2 separate regions of the Homo sapiens genome follow, and region 1 is linked to region 2. The links are contacts of gene promoters, found by promoter capture Hi-C in blood cells and fetal thymus (Javierre and others, 2016). All regions are on one chromosome and are shown on one strand. Each heading gives the region's core, a stretch centred on a gene start or on the middle of the fragment in contact. The rest is flanking DNA. Distances are from core to core; before and after follow the strand shown.

The links. Contacts are between HindIII fragments. The CHiCAGO score rates a contact against its expected background, and 5 or more counts as called.
Region 1: a contact is called between the fragment with the promoter of PSMB4 here and a fragment that was not itself captured in region 2, in 4 of 17 cell types (erythroblasts, M2 macrophages, endothelial precursors and 1 more). The highest score is 5.6, in erythroblasts.

The regions. Positions count from the first base shown.
Region 1 is chr1:151,398,263-151,401,196 of GRCh38, forward strand. It overlaps PSMB4 (proteasome 20S subunit beta 4), which reads left to right and starts at 1,311. Exons shown (of 7, transcript NM_002796.3): 1 at 1,311-1,465; 2 at 1,719-1,925; 3 at 2,180-2,326; 4 at 2,502-2,583. The coding sequence starts at 1,326. RefSeq lists enhancers at 668-1,390, 991-1,040, 1,391-2,112 and a silencer at 1,881-2,038. The HindIII fragment of the contact is 7,561 bases long and covers 1-2,934 here.
Region 2 is chr1:151,241,926-151,244,875 of GRCh38, forward strand. It overlaps PIP5K1A (phosphatidylinositol-4-phosphate 5-kinase type 1 alpha), which reads left to right. Exons shown (of 16, transcript NM_001135638.2): 13 at 198-344; 14 at 513-642. Among named protein-coding and RNA genes, the nearest start is that of PSMD4, 11 kb to the right of the region's middle. The HindIII fragment of the contact is 1,047 bases long and covers 908-1,954 here.

The sequences.
Region 1 (2,934 bases), core at 61-2,560, 160 kb after region 2:
TTTAGTTTCACCCCTACACTTCCAATGGAATTTTTCTGTTTCTTTAGAGGTGGGCAAGGGCCCTTGACAATAAGGAAACTTTCAGACTTGTCTAAGGTCCCACAGAGAGTGCTTGATCCACCTGAGCTATCACACCCCACAGGGTATACACAAGTGTATTCTTTTTTTTTTTTTTTTTTTTTTTTTTTTTGTGACAGGGTCTCGCTCTGTTGCCCAGGCTGGAGTGCAGTGGCGCCACCTTGGCTCACTGCAACCTCCCTCGGGTTCAGGCGATTCTCCCACCTCACCCTCCCAAGTAGCTGGAATTACAGGCCTGGCTAATTTTTTGTTTTGTTTTGTTTTGTAGAGGTGAGGTCTCACCATGTTGCCAAGGCTGGTCTTGAATTCCTGGGTTCAAGTGATCCTCCCGTCTTGGCCTCCCAAAGTTCTGGGATTACAGGCATGAGCCACCGCACCCGGCCCTGATTCCTTTTTTTATTCTAGCTTCAAGATTCAGTTCTACCGTTATCGGCTGTGTGACTGGGTAAATCACTACACCGCAAGCCTCGGTTTCCTATTTACCAAATGGGTCGAATAATGCCTGCCACATGGGGCTGCTCTGAGGAGTACAGATGTAAGAGATCCTGTGTTCACTGATATTTTCATGTGGGCTTTTTGATAATGATACAAAAGGAACATGAGAACTGTGACTTCTAGGCCGGGCGAGGCGGCTTACTCCTGTAATCCCAGCACTTTGGGAGTCCGAGGCAGGCGGATCACCTGAGATCCGGAGTTCGAGACCAGCCTGGCCAACATGGTGAAACCCCATCTCTAGCAAAAATACAAAAAATTAGCCAGGCGTGGTGGCAGGCGCCTGTAATCCCAGCTACTCGGGAGGCTAAGGCACGAGAATCGCTTGAATCTGGGAGGCGGAGGTTGCAGTGAGCCGAGATCGCGCCACTGCATTCCAGCCTGGGGGCCAGAGCGAGACTCCGTCTCAAAAAAATAAAAAATAAAATAAAAAATTGTGACGTCTCACTCAGGATCAGCGTCTTTAAGTGGCCACCTCCCCACCCCACCTTCATGCCTCCCTCCTCCTTGAATCGTGTGTTAGAACGCTGTGATCTGGTCCAAACTCCACGGAGATGCGATGCGATGCGAAGCGATGTTGGGCAATTTCAACTCCCTGTCTCGGTCGCCACCTAGGATTACTGCATGTTCAGCTACGACCTCATCAACATGGCTGCTGGAAGTCGTCTACAGGAAAAAGAAAGAAATGACACTGAAGGATCACTTCCGCTTCCGTTGGCGCAAGCGCTTTCATTTTTTCTGCTACCGTGACTAAGATGGAAGCGTTTTTGGGGTCGCGGTCCGGACTTTGGGCGGGGGGTCCGGCCCCAGGACAGTTTTACCGCATTCCGTCCACTCCCGATTCCTTCATGGATCCGGCGTCTGCACTTTACAGAGGTCCAATCACGCGGACCCAGTAAGTTCTCGGCGCTTTCGTTTGCGTAGCGGGAGGGACCGTGGGGCCTGGTGCTGCCGGCTGGTTTTGAGAGCCCGGGAAGGTGAGGCGGGGACCCCGGGGGCGCGCGAACGGCAGGGGAGCTCAGGGCGCGGAGTCCTGGAGAATGCAGAATAATTGGAAGGAATTATAGAAAATCAGAAGCGCAGCTCAGTGCGCGGAAAGAGGGCGCAGTCCATCCCCCCTCTCAGCTCCCACCGTTCTCACTCTTTAGGAACCCCATGGTGACCGGGACCTCAGTCCTCGGCGTTAAGTTCGAGGGCGGAGTGGTGATTGCCGCAGACATGCTGGGATCCTACGGCTCCTTGGCTCGTTTCCGCAACATCTCTCGCATTATGCGAGTCAACAACAGTACCATGCTGGGTGCCTCTGGCGACTACGCTGATTTCCAGTATTTGAAGCAAGTTCTCGGCCAGATGGTGTAAGTCATCCAGAGAACAGGAGAGTGGTTCCCAAGTAGAGAGGGGAGTCCCCTGTTTTTTATTCCCTTCGATGGGATGGGGGGACTTGTTGCAGCGGGGGACTGGAAGAGTTGTTGGAGGTGGGCGATCTGTGTTTGCAATAAAGTTTTTGGCATTAGGTGTAAAATGGGGGAAGGTGTGGTAACTTCTTTTGGGGATGGGTGGAGACCCCGACTTAATTCTCTCCCTTTTCTCACAACCAATTCCTTTTAAGGATTGATGAGGAGCTTCTGGGAGATGGACACAGCTATAGTCCTAGAGCTATTCATTCATGGCTGACCAGGGCCATGTACAGCCGGCGCTCGAAGATGAACCCTTTGTGGAACACCATGGTCATCGGAGGCTATGCTGATGGAGAGAGGTTCATATGAATACAAATAACTTATTTCCTTTACCACCCAACCTAGTACCTGTGTAGTATCTCTTCTGTCTCTTCTCCCCAAGTGAATCCCACTTTAACTCAGACCCCATGGTCCCCTTCTTCAGCTAAGATGAATCTAAGGTGAAATGAGTTTTGACCCATTGTGTCCTGTTAGCTTCCTCGGTTATGTGGACATGCTTGGTGTAGCCTATGAAGCCCCTTCGCTGGCCACTGGTTATGGTGCATACTTGGCTCAGGTAAGTAGTAAGTCTAGAGGTGGGGGAAAGGGAAGACAAAAGGAAATGGATTAGTGGTTGTCTGCTTTTCTCCTGAAATTCTGATATGAGGGATGGGCTGGGATCGCTATTACTGGGCAGATGGTTTTCTTTGTAGTCTGGGGGCTGTAGGTGTTGACACTGATTCCAGTGACAAGATGACATGACTGGGAGTCAGTAGACATGCAAAGAGAGGACACCCTAGAACTTCTTCCTGAAGTGGCTCTTAGCTTATTTTCTAAGCAGAGTTCATTCTGGTGAGGCAAGAAGTAGAATGTCATCTTTCACTCTAATGCTTTTTATACCATAGATTTGAGACAACTAGCCTGTTAT
Region 2 (2,950 bases), core at 181-2,680:
CCTCTTGGAAAGTGAAGTGAGCTAACACCTTGTTCTCTGAATAGTAATTCATAGGCCTGTCTTTGTTGACATTAGCCTTTTCACTTTTCAGACCAACTTTGGGTGTGTGTTGGGGATACTAGCAATTATTTGTATCTATGTCTTGGTAATAGTTGCTAAGGTAGTTGCTAAGTAGGCTCTCTCTTTCCCTTTTGAAGTGAAGCCTTCTCCTTCCAAAAAGTTTCGGTCTGGCTCATCTTTCTCTCGGCGAGCAGGCTCCAGTGGCAACTCCTGCATTACTTACCAGCCATCGGTCTCTGGGGAACACAAGGCACAAGTGACAACAAAGGCAGAAGTGGAGCCAGGTCAGCGCTAGGGCTGGGGTCCCCATGTGATTGGGTACTCCCTCCCTTCCTTCTGAGCCTTTATCTTGTCTGGCCAGGACCTCTGCTCCCATTTCTATCCAGGAAGCCTAGCTGCTACATATTTTTCCTTGTATTTACTGTACCCCATCTTCTCTATCTTTTTTCCAGGCGTTCACCTTGGTCGTCCTGATGTTTTACCTCAGACTCCACCTTTGGAGGAAATCAGTGAGGGCTCGCCTATTCCTGACCCCAGTTTCTCACCTCTAGTTGGAGAGACTTTGCAAATGCTAACTACAAGGTTGGTTTATTGGCCCCTTTCTCCATATAATCTTATCTCTCTTTTCAAGTCCTTGGAAACCTCTATAATTTGATTGCATCATAATAAATTACCCCAAAGATTAGTGGCTTAAAATAACAAACATATATCATACTTTCTGTGGGTCAGGAATCCAGGCCCAGCTTAGCTGGGTCCTCTGGCTCAAGATTTCTCATGAGGTGGCATTTAAGCTGTTGGCCAGGGCTGGGGTCTCATCTGAAGGCTCAAACAGGAAGATCTGCTTTTAAGCTTATTTATGTGGTTACTGGTAGGATTCTGTTCCTTGTGGGTTGCTGAACTGAGGGCCTTAGTTCCTTGCTGGCTGTTGTCTGGGGGCTTCCCTCAGTTCTTTGCTACATGGACTTCTCCATAGGACAGCTCAGAACATGGCACCTGGGCTATCTGACAAGTGAACAAGAGAGCATGTGCCTATGCAGAAACCATGGCCTCTTATAACTTAATCTCAGAATTGACATTCTACTTGTGCTACATTCTGTTCACTAAATGCAGCCCACACTCAAGAGGAAGGAATTACCCATGGGTGTGAATACCAGGAGGTGCAGGGATCATTGTGAGCCATCTTAGAAACTGCCTGTCATAGTCTGCTCTCTGGTCTCCAGTAATTTACATACCTCCATGTCGAAAATACACTGACCCCCTCCCAGGGTCTCATCCCATTGTAGCGTTAGCTCAGAGTCCAGAGTTTTATTACCTAAATTAGGTCCGGTTGGATGAGCCCCCCAGGTATAGTTCCTTAAGCACAGCTCCTCAAGTACAGTTCTTCTCAATCTGTGAACTTGTGGAACCAAAGAGACAAGTTATCCTTTCCCCATGTACCTAGCATACAATGGTGAGACAGGCATTAGATAACCAATATACACATTTCTGTACATAAAAGGGGAGAATGGGAGGCACAAAAAGGAGTCATTGATTTTATTTGCTGTTCCAAAATCCAGGAAATGTTGGAGTTTCTTTTATCAGGCCTCAAAGCAGAAGAATAATTCTCCGTGGTTCTTGGCTCTACCCTCTAGACTCTTGGTTTTGTCTTCTGAGTCTTCCTTTTTCATCAAAGCTAGAGTGTGTTTTTACCTGAGTTCTTTTCTCAGGCTGCTTCTTTCCAGTAGAATTTTAGGGGAACTAGTGGTCTCTATTTTGTACTGTTTCTGTCCTTTTTGATCCAAGATGGCAGTGTTTCTACTGATACAGAAGATTTTGTGGGCCTCCTGTGATTCTCCTTGGGATTTACTCCATTAGACAAAAGCCACACTCATAAATATCTTCTTTATGAGACCTAAGCTTCTTACAGACTCTGTTTTTCGGTTGAAAGGATCTGTGAAACATAATCTTCTGAACAGCCTTTTGTATGACTGAATAGCACAATCAGCCCTCCGTATCCACAGGTTCCACATCCCAGATTCAACCAACTGTGGACTGAAAATACTTGAGAGCCTGGTGTGGTGGCTCATGCCTGTAATCCCACCACTTTGGGAGGCTGAGGTGGGAGGATTGCTTGAGGCAGTTTGAGACCAGCCTGGTCAATATAACGAGACCCCATCCCTTTGAAAAAAAAAAAGAAAGAAACGAAAAAATACTGAAAAAAAAAAAAAAAGTCGTGAAAATGTTATGTTGTTGCTGATATGTACTGTACAGTTAGGCCTGTACTTAACATGTACAGACTTTTCTTGTCATTATTCCCTGAACAATATAGTATAACAACTATTTACATAGCATTTACATTGTATTAGTTATCATAAATAATCTAGGAATGATTTAAAGTATATGGAGGGCCAGGCGTGATGGCTCACGCCTGTAATCCCAACACTTGTGAGAGGTAGAGGCGGCCAGATTACTTGAGCCTAGGAGTTTAAGATCAGCCTGAGCAACATGGCGAAACCCCATCTCTACCAAAAATACAAAAAAATTAGCCAGGCGTGGTGGTATGTTCCTGTAGTCCAAGTTACTCAGGAGGCTGAGGCAGGAGGATCGCTCGAACCCCGGAGGCAGTGGTTGCAGTGAGCCGAAATCGCGCCACTGGACTCTAGCCTGGGTGACAGAGCGAGACCCTGTCTCAAAAGAAAAATAAATAAAAATAAAGTATATGGAGGATGTGTGTGAGTTATATGCAAATACCATAGCATTGTATATAAGGGACTTGTGCATTGTGGATTTTGATATTCAAGGAGGGGTCCTGGAACCAGTCCCCCACAGATATTGAGGGATGACTATACTCTGAACCAATACCTTTTGTTTTTCTGAGGTCTTAATAAGATGTTTCACAGTCATATGTTTG